2 separate regions of the Homo sapiens genome follow, and region 1 is linked to region 2. The links are contacts of gene promoters, found by promoter capture Hi-C in human tissues and cell types (Jung and others, 2019). All regions are on one chromosome and are shown on one strand. Each heading gives the region's core, a stretch centred on a gene start or on the middle of the fragment in contact. The rest is flanking DNA. Distances are from core to core; before and after follow the strand shown.

Region 1 (7,325 bases), core at 1,311-3,810, 43 kb after region 2:
GCACCAAGCGGACCTAATAGACATCTACAGAACTCTCCACCCTAAATCAACAGAATATACATTCTTTTCAGCACCACACCACACCTATTCCAAAATTGACCACATAGCTGGAAGTAAAGCACTCCTCAGCAAATGTAAACAGAAATTATAACAAACTGTCTCTCAGACCACAGTGCAATCAAACTAGAACTCAGGATTAAGAAACTCACTCAAAACCGCTCCACTACATGGAAACTGAACAACCTGCTCCAGAATGACTACTGGGTACATAACGAAATGAAGGCAGAAATAAAGATGTTCTCTGAAACCAACGGAAACAAAGACACAACATACCAGTATCTCTGGCACACATTCAAAGCAGTGTGTAGAGGGAAATTTATAGCACTAAATGCCCACAAGAGAAAGCAGGAAAGATCCAAAATTGACACCCTAACGTCACAATTAAAAGAACTAGAAAAGCAAGAGCAAACACATTCAAAAGCTAGCAGAAGGCAAGAAATAACTAAAATCAGAGCAGAACTGAAGGAAATAGAGACACAAAATACCGTTCAAAAAATTAATGAATCCAGGAGCTGGTTTTTTGAAAAGATCAACAAAACTGATAGACTGCTAGCAAGACTAATAAAGAAGAAAAGAGAGAAGAATCAAATAGATGCAATAAAAAATGATAAAGGGGATATCACCACCGATCCCACAGAAATACAAACTACCATCACAGAATACTACAAACACCTCTACGCAAATAAACTAGACAATCTAGAAGAAATGGATAAATTCCTCGACACATACACCATCCCAAGACTAAAACAGGAAGAAGTTGAATCTCTGAATAGACCAATAACAGACTCTGAAATTGTGGCAATAATCAATAGCTTACCAACCAAAAAAAGTCCAGGAGCAGATGGATTCACAGCCAAATTCTACCAGACGTACAAGGAGGAGCTGGTACCATTCCTTCTGAAACTATTCCAATCAATAGAAAAAGAGGGAATCCTCCCTAACTCACTTTATGAGGCCAGCATCATCCTGATACCAAAGCCTGGCAGAGACACAACAAAAAAAGAGAGTTTTAGACCAATATCCTTGATGAACGCTGATGCAAAAATCCTCAATACAATACTGGCAAACCGAATCCAGCAGCACATCAAAAAGCTTATCTACCATGATCAAGTGGGCTTCATCCCTGGGATGCAAGGCTGGTTTAACATATGAAAATCAATAAATGTAATCCAGCATATAAACAGAACCAAAGACAAAAACCACACGATTATCTCAATAGATGCAGAAAAGGCCTTTGACAAAATTCAACAACACTTCATGCTAAAAACTCTCAATAAATTAGGTATTGATGGGACATATCTCAAAATAATAAGAGCTATCTATGACACATCCACAGCCAATATCATACAGAATGGGCAAAAACTGGAAGCATTCCCTTTGAAAGCTGGCACAAGACAGGGATGCCCTCTCTCACCACTCCTATTCAACATAGTGTTGGAAGTTCTGGCCAGGGCAATTAGGCAGGAGAAGGAAATAAAGGGTATTCAATTAGGAAAATAGGAAGCCAAATTGTCCCTGTTTGCAGATGACATGATTGTATATCTAGAAAACCCCACTGTCTCAGCCCAAAATCACCTTAAGCTGATAAGCAACTTCAGCAAAGTCTCAGGATACAAAATCAATGTGCAAAAATCACAAGCATCCTTATACACCAATAACAGACAAACAGAGAGCCAAATCATGAGTGAACTCCCATTCACAATTGCTTCAAAGAGAATAAAATACCTAGGAATCTAACTTACAAGGGATGTGAAGGACCTCTTCAAGGAGAACTACAAGCCACTGCTCAGTGAAATAAAAGAGGACACAAACAAATGGAAGAACATTCCATGCTCATGGGTAGGAAGAATCAATATCGTGAAAATGGCCATACTGCCCAAGGTAATTTATAGATTCAATGCCATCCCCATCAAGCTACCAATGACTTTCTTCACAGAATTGGAAAAAACTACTTTAAACTTCATATGGAACCAAAAAAGAGCCCACATTGCCAAGTCAATCCTAAGCCAAAAGAACAAAGCTGGAGGCATCATGCTACCTGACTTCAAACTATACTACAAGGCTACAGTAACCAAAGCAGCATGGTACTGGTACCAAAACAGAGGTATAGACCAATGGAACAGAACAGAGCCCTCAGAAATAATGCCGCATATCTACAACCATCTGATCTTTGACAAACCTGACAAAAACAAGCAATGGGGAAAGGATTCCCTATTTAATAAATGGTGCTGGGAAAACTGGCTAGCCATATGTAGAAAGCTGAAACTGGATCCCTTCCTTACACCTTATACAAAAATTAATTCAAGATGGATTAAAGACTTACATGTTAGACCTAAAACCATAAAAACCCTAGAAGAAAACCTAGGCAATACCATTCAGGATATAGGCATGGGCAAGGACTTCATGTCTAAAACACCAAAAGCAATGGCAACAAAAGACAAAATTGACAAATGGGATCTAATTAAACTAAAGAGCTTCTACACAGCAAAAGAAACTACCATCAGAGTGAACAGGCAACCTACAAAATGGGAGAAAATTTTTGCAACCTACTCATCTGACAAAGGGCTAATATCCAGAATCTACAATGAACTCAAACAAATTTACAAGAAAAAAACAGACAACCCCATCAAAAAGTGGGCAAAGGATATGAACAGACACTTCTCAAAAGAAGACATTTATGCAGCCAAAAGACACATGAAAAAATGCTCATCATCACTGGCCATCAGAGAAATGCAAATCAAAACCACAATGAGATACCATCTCACACCAGTTAGAATGGCGATCATTAAAAAGTCAGGAAACAACAGGTGCTGGAGAGGATGTGGAGAAATAGCAACACTTTTACACTGTTGGTGGGACTGTAAACTAGTTCCACCATTGTGCAAGTCAGTGTGGCGATTCCTCAGGGATCTAGAACTAGAAATACCATTTGACCCAGCCATCCCATTACTGGGTATATACCCAAAGGATTATAAATCACACTGCTATAAAGACACATGCACACGTATGTTTACTGTGGCACTATTCACAATAGCAAAGACTTGGAACCAACCCAAATGTCCAACAATGATAGACTGGATTAAGAAAATGTGGCACATATACACCATGGAATACTATGCAGCCATAAAAAATGAAGAGTTCATGTCCTTTGTAGGGACATGGATGAAGCTGGAAACCATCATTCTCAGCAAACTATTGCAAGGACAAAAAACCAAACACCATATCTTCTCACTGATAGGTGGGAACTGAACAATGAGAACACATGGACACAGGAAGGGGAACATCACACTCCGGGGACTGTTGTGGGGTGGGGGAAGAGGGGAGGGAAAGCATTAGGAGATATACCTAATGCTAAATGACGAGTTAATGGGTGCAGCACACCAACATGGCACATGTATACATATGTAACAAACCTGCACATTGTGCACATGTACCCTAAAACTTAAAGTATAATAATAATAAAATAAAATAAAATAAAAGAATATTCTCTCATGACACGTGGTGTTAATATATTGCAGCTAGGCAATAAAAATGTAAAACTCAGAAAATAGACCATAAGCGATTAAAATTAGTAGAGGAAATATTTTCTATCATATCCAATTGCTTGATTATACTTTTAAAAAATGATTCTTCAATAATGCAATAAAGCTTTAAAATAGAATATTAAGTTACTAACAACAGTCAACCCACAATCCTAACATAAAATACATTTTCTATATAAACATGGCCTATTTTACACACACACACACACACACACACACACACACACACACACATATTTTATATTTTGGTTTATTATGAGGTTATAGCTCAATCAGAAGTCATTTTCTCATTTTCACTTAATTATAATATACATTTAAACCTATTTTGTATAAAGTATTCTTAGAAAGTACAATAATAATGTGATTTTTTTAAAGGACACTGGGAGACCTACCAATAGCAGAAATCCCTTTTATGAAGCAATTAAATGCTGCCACAGAGTTTAAGAAAAGAGTATAGCATTGGTGGTTTACCAGCTCAGGCTTTAGAATCAGATTTTTACAGATACACCAGATGGGTGTCCTTAGGACCCACTGGAATATACATTCTACAAAGGGTAGGGGGTTTCTGTTTTGTTCAGTGTCTTGTGTTTTCAGTGTCTGGAATAGCACATAGCACACATAGTAGATATTCAATAAACAATGGCTGAATAAGTAAATGAATTTTTCCAAGTTTTATGATAAAAGAATGACCAAAGTTTTTTTTATTGTTACTTCATGCAAAGTGCAGATGAGCCAAAATAGGAAGACTAGGCAGAGACTGGTTTACCCCATGGATATTATCATCATCATCATCAATATATTGTTGTTGTCATTATCAGTTTTATGCTGAGTTTATAGATAAGGACAGATCTTACACTTCTCAAACACAGAAACTGCATTTTACTCACTCTGTAGGAGATTCTAACAAGCTACAGGGCTTATGTATATTGAAACCTAATTGTTTGATAAATAAATTAAACGAATTATAAATCATGATTTTCATAAACAGACTAAAGAGTATTCATTCATGAAGGTATGGTCTGGTTACTTTATGGGAAATTTTTCCTCCTTTAATCTCTATTTGTAGGATAAGTCAAAAATAGATTAGATAATACTAAATAGCTACCTAGAATTAATGTTATCATGAGACTCAATATGTGGGATATAGATATATTATTGATGAAAACTAAAAATCTTGCTAGATATATAAGCAGACTTCATAAAACGAAGAGATTGATTCAGCCAAGAACATTAAAAAAAAGATACAAAGTTTATCACGGTAACCTATACATTTCAACCATAAATATACTAACAATTCTGTTTTCACAAGTGGGATTAGTAGAGAATCGTTCTAACATTCGAGAGACTAAATGCATTAATATACAGAATTGGGAAAATTTCAGAAGGATGAGTTGTCATTATGGTGTATAAGAGATACAGTCATCCTCACCCTCCTGTGAATCCCATATTCCATTTCCCCTCAAAAGCAGAGTATCCATCGATGGGAGGTGGAGAGGAGAATGATGAATCCTTCCTGCCTCAATTGAGGACTTTAATGTAAAAGCTGGGCTGTCAAAGAAACTCCCTACAAATCATCCTTCTTTTACTCTTGTTGCTAGCCTCTTTTTCATTATCTTTTGATTTACTGTTAGTCAAATTAATGCCCTCTTTAGAACAAGTCAGGCAATAAAATATCTATAAACAATTATTAAATCAATTCTCAGTATAGCAAAATAAAGTTTCTAAGCCAGAAAGAGTAAGAAAGAGAACAGATCCTGGATTATGACAAATTTACCCAGGTAAATACTGTCTCTTGGCAGCCATGAATGTAGTTAAGTACATTACCTTACTCATGCTTAAATAACATCACCACTTTGTAGTAATGCCTATCTAAATTTTCATCTAGTCCCAAGACTCTTCTTAAAGAAAAATCATGAATCTATGTGATATAACTTAATCATTCAATCTACACTTTGTAGTTTTATTTTTTAAACTATTACATAATAACCTGCATTAAAAAGTACAATAAATATGTCTGCACTAAAATAATTCTGCTTATTCTCTGACAATAAGATAATAGTATACTTTTCATTTTCATTTCCCTAATGCCTAACGATGTTGAGCATGTTTACAGATGCGTATCTGTCATCATCTTGGGTGAAGTGTCTGTTCAACTCTTTTGCCTATTTTTTAAGTGGGTTGTTGGAGTTCCTATTAAGTTTTGAGTCTTTTGATATGTCTGGATGCAAGTCCTCTATCAAATATACTTTGCAAATATTTTCTCCTTGTCCACAGTTTGTCTTTTTATTCTCGTAACAGTATCATTTGAAGAGCTTCTTAAATTTTGATGAAATCTAATTTATCAACTTTATTCTCTTGTGAATTGTGCTTTGGGTAATATCTAAGAATCACTGTCTAATTCAAAGTCACAGAAATCTTCTATGTTTCTGGGAGAGACCTCCCAACAGGAGTTGACAGACACCTCATACAGGAGAGCTCCAGCTGGCATCAGGCCAGTGACCCTCTGGGACGAAGCTTCCAGAGGAAGGAGCAGGCAGCAATCTTTTCTGTTCTGCAGCCTCCACTGGTGATACCCAGGTGAACAGGGTCTGCAGTGGACCCCCAGCAAACTGCAGCAGACCTGCAGAAGAGGGGTCCGTTGGAAGAAAAACTAACAAACAGAAAGCAACAACAACAACAACAAAAAGACCCCCACACAAAAACCCCACCCAAAGGTCATCAGCCTCAAAGATCAAAGGTAGATAAATCCACAAAGATGAGGAAAAACCAGTGAAAAAATGCTGAAAATTCCAATAACCAGAATGCGTCTTCTCCTCCAAATGATCGCAACAGCTCTCCAGCAAGGGCGCAGAACTGGACGGAGGATGAGATGAACTAATTGACAGAAGTAGGCTTCAGAAGGTGGGTAATTACAAACTCTGCTGAGCTAAAGAAGCATGTTCTAACCCAATGCAAAGAAGCTAAGAACCTTGATAAAAGGTTACAGGAGCTGCTAACTAGAATAACCAGTTTAGAGGGGAACATTAATGACTTGATGCAGCTGAAAAACTTAGTGAAGCATACACAAGTATCAACAGCCGAATAGATCAAGTGGAAGAAAGGATATCAGAGTCTGAAGATCACCTTGCTGAAATAAGGCATACAGACAAGATTAGAGAAAAAAGAATGAAAAAAAAATGAACAAAATCTCGGAGAAATATGGAACTATGTAAAAATAAAGAACCTATGATTGATTGGAGTACCTGAAAGAGATGGGGTGAATGGAATCAAGTTGGAAAAGACTCTTCAGGATATTATCCAGGAGAACTTCCCCAGCCTAGCAAGACAGGCCAACATTCAAATTCAGGAAATACAGAGAACACCACTAAGATATTCCATGAGAAGATAAACCCCAAGACATATAATCATCAGATTCTTCACGGTTGAATTGAAGGAAAAAATGTTAAGAGCAGCCAGAGAAAAAGGTCAGGTCACCTAGAAAAGGGAAGCCCATCAGACTAACAGCGGATCTCTCAGCAGAAACTCTACAAGCCAGAAGAGAGTGGGGGCCAACATTCAACATTCCTTTTTTTTTTTTTTGTGATGGAGTCTCACTCTGTCGCCCAGGCTGCAGTGCAGTGGCGCAATCTCGGCTCACCACAACCTCTGCCTCCCAGGTTCAAGTGATTCTCCTGCCTCAGCCTCCTGAGTAGCTGGGATTACAGGTGTGCACCATCACGCCTG
Region 2 (7,740 bases), core at 4,773-7,272:
TCCCTAAGGTTCCCTACCATATTTGGCTTTTATCTTAAGCAGCTGAGGTTAGAATAGAGGGGGTAGAGAAAAATGGGAGTCCACAAAGTAAAAGAGCAGCTATGTACCAGTCAGCAAGACTGCATTTACATTCAATTTCAAGTGGCTGCCCACTCAGACTCCACAAATGAACTTATAATATACTTAGTCTACCCAAAGCTCCACATCCTCATTGCTGACATCTTTTATGTTAGCTCTCAGAAGCCCTTCATTCAGCAGCTACAGCCATACTGCCTTTTGCCTTAGGGCCCTGAGGCTTGCTGTTTTGTTGATATAATAATAATTTTTCCTCCTCCAGCCTAGAGAGTGAGCAATAACCAAGGCACTATTTGAGAAGCTTCATTCATTTCCACCCCTCACTGCTTAGCCTCAAAAAATTCATTAACAGGCAGGTCGTTAGGAGACTCTTACTCTGTACTACTACCCCACCACTTAAACAAGAGCATTCGCTACTGGTCTCATATCCTCTAAACCAGCCCATAAGAGCCCTGTCATTTCTCTTTCAGGAAACCTTATCTCTGTCAACATCATATGCTTGTAGCCAAAAATGTCAAAAATTGTTTAGGGTCTGGGATTCTACCCTATTTATAAGCTGTGAAGCTAGCCTGTTACTGTTTCATGGATGCTAACATAAGATGTAAGATGCCTGGGTCCGAACCAAAGAACTGTATTACCCATGATGCAGCAAGCAGTATGAGCATGATATCAGTGAAAATTCACCTTGCCCTCCAAGTCCCTGGCAAAGGGACTGTGGATGCTCTGTATACTACGGGTTTTTTCACAGCTGAAGAGCACTGAGCTTGGGAAAGTTGCCATTTTTATAACAAAGAAAAGCAAGTCTGCTTGCATTCTATTTGTCTAGGGTGTCATTACTTCATTCCTCAAGGTTGCTAGCTACAACCCCTTCCTGAGAAATGGATGGAGTAAAGGGTAGTTCTGTTAGGGCTTTGCATTCTCAGCATATCCGGCAAGAATGTTCAGGGATATTCAGGGCTTATGGGGATTGTTTCTCCCAACACACTCCCATTCAACCTAATACCAGAGGTCCTAGGCAGTACAAGAAGGCAAGAATATAAGTAAGTCTCACATGTTTCAGGAAAAAGTAAACTATCTCTATTTGCAGACAATTGTCTATATAGAAAATACCATGGAATTCACACAAAAAACTCCCAAGACTAATATATGAATTTAGTAAAGTTGCAGGATATGAGTTCAATATGATCCTAATTACATATACTAACAATAAACAATTGGATTTTTTTAAAAAATTAGGTGCTACTTCAACAGTACTGAAGAAATAATTAAATACAAATCTAACAAAATATGTGCAGGATCTGTAGGCCAAGAACTACAAAATATTGACGAAATAAATGTAAAATGCCCTAAAAATAGTAGAGATACTATGTTCATAAGTTAGAAGACTCAATACTGTTAAGATGTCATTTCTTTCCAAACTGATCTACAGATTCTCTGCAATACCAATCAAAATAACAGCAGGACTTTTTATAGATATTGCACCCCTAAACAGAGATCAGAAGGTAGGAGTAACTGAAGAAACACTGCTGAATATACCTGGCAGAAAGACACCAGTGATTACAGTCTTTAAGAATTATTAATTAAACTCTTAAAATGCATTCATTTTCCCAAATGGATGACTCAAGTAGTATAGTGGATGTTACTGAGTTTATAGTAGAACTACAGCCTATAGTAAAACTCTGCCATTCTCAGGCTCTTTATATAAAGAATGGCAGCCTTCTTACAAAAATGTTATGTATCTAACTAGTATCAATAACAGAGCACTAGATTGTAGACAGTCAGCTATGTCCCCCAGCACAGCATAAGAGTCATAACAGCACAAAACAGGGGACTTGACACAGCTTTGTTAAATATGTAATCTAGTTGATCAATGGACTTGGCCTCAGGACACAAAATTAATTTGATTCTGCATAACTTAAGAGTAAGAGAATTATGCAAAGAAAAAAAGGAAGCAAGAGAAAAGAGAAATCAATGGGGTGATGGAGCACAAACATGGCTATTTGTGTAGTTCCTTGATGAAAATATAAGAGAAAAACATCAATAAAATCCATAATATTTAGGAAGGCAAAGAGGGATAGTAAGCAGTCAAAACAGTAAACCAGAAAACTGGACATGAAGGTAATAATTTGGACAAAGCCCCAAAGTAGACATGCCAACAGTTGTGCAACAGAGGGAGGATAAATTGTAATAATAGTCACAGGATCCAAAGTGTAGGTATGGATGGAAAAATGGCAAGAAATGCCATGTATTTACTTTTATAATGTATGTGATACTGGCAAATGACTTACAAACACAGTGTGAAAAATAAAAATGAAAAAAACGTAAATGCCCAATTTAGGTGAAGTAGGGAAGGATGGGAAAGAATGGCTTTGGATTTTCTATCTGTTAAGTGTATGCAATTCTGATGCATGTGCTTTATCAAATATAATCAGTATTCAGTTATTCTCATATAGAAAATGAATCACCAATGTTGTTGATTCTCTACGACTTCTGCTACTCCCCACTTGATGGAAGTTCAGCAGATGGTCCATTTCTATTTTTCTGATAAAGTATTTGTTGTGAAAGAAATGTAAAGTTGAGAAGCCAAATAAAATCTCTGAATTGGCATTAAAGCAAAATAAACCTTTTTTCTATGGGCTCCAGTATCAGAGAGAGTTCAAGGTTTACTACGCTAAGTATCCACTGAAAAAGGACCCTTGTCGCAATACAGCTTAAAACTGATTTTCAGCAATTAAAAATTGTTTGTACATAGATACCTTAAAATTGTTTCAAAGTACTTTCAGTTATGGTGAATTCCAATATTTCACAAAGCTGAGTTTTTATTTACAAACTCAGAGAATCTTCAAAACTGTGGCATCAGAACTAGCCACAAGCTGGGTAAGAATGATTTGATATGAATAGTACAATGTAAATATACAATAAATTACTCTGTCATAGTCACGGTTGTCAAAATTTAAGAAAACAAATACATAAAATTAGTTAGAGACTTCCCATAGGAGGAATTAAAACAGATATGCAATTAAAATATTTATAACTAAAAAGAAAAGCACGACTTTTAAAAAAGGATTTTAATTGAGCTGTATTTTGGGGTTAGAATCATATCTAGTGCTTAGTTATTATTAGGAAGTCAAACTGCTCTCCTAGGTTAGTATATAAAGGTTATATTAATTGCACAAAATATATTAAATGCACAAGTGTGAGTGTTACTACGGAAACAAGGATCTTCATAAATTGATAATCTGAAATTATTATTATTTTTTTTTTGAGACCTAGTCTCACCTTGTTGCCCAGGCTGGAGGGGTAGCGGTGCAATCGCAGCTCACTGCAATCTCTGCCACCCAGGTTCAAGCGATTCTCATTCCTCAACCTCGCGAGGAGCTGGACTAGAGGCTTGTGCCACCATGCCTAATTTTTGTATTTTTTGTAGAGACAGGGTTTCACCATGTTGGCCAGACTGGTCTCGAACTCCTGACCTCAAGTGATCCACCCGCCTCAGCCTCCCAAAGTGCTGGGATTACAGGTGAGAGCCACTGCACCCGGTCTGTAATTAATTTTTTTCATGAAAATAATATAATCTGATTCTCAATCAGTAGTTGAGATATTTGCATATTTGTTAAAAACAGGGGAAGTTGGAATTACCTTGTTAAGATTTCGGCATACCTTGTTAATCACCAATTTGTGGTTTTTAAAAAGGAAATAAAATTATACTAAGCACTGTACACAATAAAAAAAGTTTGTGATATCTTATTTATCCTTGGAGACAAGTTACTCATACAGAAAATAAAGAGCACTGTCTGTGCTCGAGCTACCATTATGGCTCAGAAACCCCAGATTTTGTTTTTTTGAAATAATCTGAATATAACTTGAAAACACTGTCTCACAAAGAGTTAAACAAAGCACAAAAATATACTTCAACAAAAGGAATCAAAGTTGACCCAAAGGATGTTTGACTTGCCAAAAGTTATATAGGTAATAAATAGCAACTAAATCTAGATTATCCAATTCTAAGTCCCAAGACCTTCATAATTTTCCAAAGAGAGAAGGCCAACCGCCTAGTACAGCGTGGTTTGCAGTTTTAACATTGACTCTGCTGCTAACTTACCTTGACCCTTTCAAGTCAGTAAATTTCTCTGTACCTTTGTTTCTTCTACTTCATGGGGATATTCTGATGATAAACATAAGCAAATACTTGAACTCTGGCAGAAAAGCACTCTGCTGTGTTAATAATCTCCTCATCCCCATCACATATTTCCACTGATGCTATGCTTTCTCTGGTCTTAGTTTTAAGCTTAAATGAATGTGTGTGCTGTGGTGTGTGTGTGTGTGTGTGTGTTTCGGTGTGTGTAAGTTTTCTTTATAAATGGCTGGCATTCTAGCAAGATCCTTTTCCCCAACTTTCAAAACGCATGAATAGCAGCACAACATTTTCATTTTTAGAATTACCAAAGCCTTGCCACCCAAAGCTGTGCAGAAGATTTTAGAAATTCACAACAAAATTTTCCACCATATTACTCTCAACTTCTATAGAAATGCAACTCACAACTCATATTGGTCAGCTATTCCCCTATAAAGATTCAACACTACCAGTGGAAGATTATAAAAATGCATACGGCTTTTCAAATAATAAGAGAATAGTTCCAATTGCAAATAAAAACCAGTATACATTTTGAAAAATGAAGGTCACTAAATATTCCTAAAATAATGGAAACAGGTGATAATTAACATTCTAACAGTTTAGCCACATGTAATGTCCTCTATTTTGTCAACAGAGTCCAGCTGTTTTATCTACTTAAGTCTAAAAGAAATTTATCCTCATCATTAAAAACAGGAACTTATTTATAGGTAACTAAAATTAACAGAAATTTAATTTTAAATATTTTAATTTTATTTTTAATATTAAATTTAATTTAAATTTAATTTAATTTAAAATTTTTAATTTAAATATTTAAATATTTAATTTTAAATATTCAGTACTTGTACCATTATTTTCATTTTGAAAATGTATCTATCTTATAATGATTTGGCTTTATAACTTATAAAGACATGTAACTTACTTTATCCTTTAAAATAATATTTTACTAACAATATTAGCGTGTAGCTACATATCATATTTAAGAAACAGCAATCTACTAAGAAATGTGCCCAGGTCAAAAATAGAATAAGCCAATTGAAATAAAATATTATAGCAAATGATCAGTATACATCTACCAAATAAAAGGGTTATGAAAGGTGAAGACCAAGTAGTAATCTCCAAAAGTAATACAATGATTACTGATTGAAGTTTTATACCCGAGACTAAGCTACTATAATGAAATGTTTAAAAAATATTTTAGGGTATTATCACCTTAGGTCAATCTGATTATTATTTTGAATGAATGAATGAATGAAATGAATGAATACCCAAATGAATGAATACTGAAGTCATGACAATGTTTAACACCTTGAGATGCTCACAACAATTTGGAATACCCAGAGAAGATGACTTGAATACAAACAAACTATTTAAAATTCACTGTGGCTCACAGTAAAGATGCAGTGGGTTTCTATTTGTAGAACAAAGAATCTCAATCAAAAACCTATATATGACTAAAATATTCTCAAATGCAATTATCAAGGCTTTAGAAAGCATATATACTTTTTACTATGTAATTCTTTCCTGTTCCCCCACCTCCCTGCATTTTTTTTTAATGTTTGGCATAAGTGACCAACAAACCAGAATAGAATACACATTTTTAAAATACTAATTTACACATATTCTATTTAAGAACAACATACAACCACTCATAAATTTAGCCTTTTTAAAAGTGTCCTTTATATAAAACAGTGGGGAGCGGGGGAAATCCCTGCTATACATATGAAGCACAGTTTAAGCCCAATACAACTGACCAATCAAAATTAGTGAATACACTGCATCTCTCTGCAGTGGAGAGAAGCGACAAGGTAGGCTGTCATTCTGCAAAAGCTGCCCGAACAGGCTTTCCTCTGAAAAGCAGTGCCGTTCCTTTTTAGAAAGACTGAATCTAAATGTTGTCTCTGGAGACAAGAAGCCTTCAGTATGTTAAATTACTTTCATTATGTATTTTCAGATGCTTATTGATTCCACAGTAGGAAGAGTGAGAGACTGCAGCAGCCTCTAAGCAGCACTACATGTTCCATACATTAGCAGTACTGCTGAAACAATGGCACACTACAGACACATATTTTCATTAAGGTCATTTTCGAAGAGATGTTTATGACCCTCTTCCCCCAGTCCTCTACTAACAAGTGAACAAAATGAATCAATCCAAACTGGAAATGCTTCAACTACATCAAGAATTTATCAAATCTTTAGCAGAGGTAAGATTTGTTCCTATTATAGTATACAGCTGCTTTTGAACCGGCATAGTGGGGTAAAAATTACTTTGAAAAATTTCAGCCTAAATTTTAAGAGTTTGTTTAATTCTACTTATTGCTAGACATGTATTTTAAGATCTATTTCTTTTAAGACATGCTACATTTTAAATGTAATTTTTTAGGATGCATTGTTAAATACAAATATTCTTTGTAAATTCATTATGAAGACAGCTTTTGAGTCACTTCAGATATACTAAATATTCTTAATGTAATCAGTACAGTTTTTCTCCAGTGTTTCAAAAATGCTTCTGTTTCTTAAAAGAACTAGGTTTACTATTTTGCTGTTACTTATTACTTAATTTTATGTTAAGTTTATTATTTGGCATGTTCACTGAAAATTAATTTGCAGTTACAATTTTTATTACCTTTTGTATTTCAACCACATGAACAATTCATCAATGGAAATTTATAGTATCTTATGAAATCTGTTTTAATGAGTTAAAATTCAAACCATGTGCTAATAATTAGGCAAGTTACAATATTTTTAGAGCAAAAAATGTTGTTAAATTTATTACAAAGAAGAAATAACAGTATGTTTAGTGTATGCTAATTGTTCATCATCTCTGAAAATACAGGTTAGCTTCTAAAATGAGAGCAGAAATTAGTTTTAAAAAATATAGCTTTTCTCTCACAATTGTATTTGAAATGTGAACTCTATTGTTAAATAACATAATATATACAATCTTTATTAGGAAAAAAGACTTATTTAAAGAAACAATTTTATGCATATAGCTGTGGCTCTAATAATAACAGTTTGGTTATTTTGATAACAAATACTGGATAGTTTTTAAACAAAACTAAAGTAACTTGCAATTAATTACAAATTATTAAAAACCCTATTTCTTAACCAATTTTCTTCTTTTCACAAGGGCCAATAGCAGCTAATTCAGTATTTACAACTGACAATATGAAGAATGCAATTGACTGAGCATCTCCCTAGCTGTCTGAACTACGAACTGCAAGATGTTCTTGTAACACGACTTTAAGACATTAAGGAGTTAAAACCAGGGAATAGGTCTACATTACTGATGGAATATAAAAAATCAACTGTATCCTAAGAAGATGCTACATAAAATAACCACAAAAAGAAAAACAATATAACTGTAAAAGCCTGAAAAGAATTTTTAAAAGGGGAAGTTTATACTTTCATATACCAGAATTGTGGAAGTTACTGATTCTGGAAGACATAATGAAACATGAATTTCCAAAAAGAAAAGAAAATACTTTATCAGCACACAAAAGGAAGATTTAGGAAGTGTTTTCTGCACTAAA

Evidence for each region. The method cuts DNA at HindIII sites, captures the fragments that hold promoters and counts their contacts. A contact is called where the count stands out against the background at its distance.
Region 1: a contact is called between a fragment that was not itself captured here and the fragment with the promoter of GPR22 in region 2, in 1 of the 25 tissues and cell types used here (IMR-90 fibroblasts).

The regions. Positions count from the first base shown.
Region 1 is chr7:107,510,535-107,517,859 of GRCh38, forward strand. All of the region lies in intron 6 of COG5 (component of oligomeric golgi complex 5), which reads right to left. Among named protein-coding and RNA genes, the nearest start is that of GPR22, 44 kb to the left of the region's middle. The HindIII fragment of the contact is 4,703 bases long and covers 210-4,912 here.
Region 2 is chr7:107,464,035-107,471,774 of GRCh38, forward strand. GPR22 (G protein-coupled receptor 22) reads left to right here and starts at 6,023. Exons shown (of 3, transcript NM_005295.3): 1 at 6,023-6,411; 2 at 7,338-7,740. The region is part of intron 6 of COG5 (component of oligomeric golgi complex 5); the gene reads right to left. The HindIII fragment of the contact is 7,138 bases long and covers 2,370-7,740 here.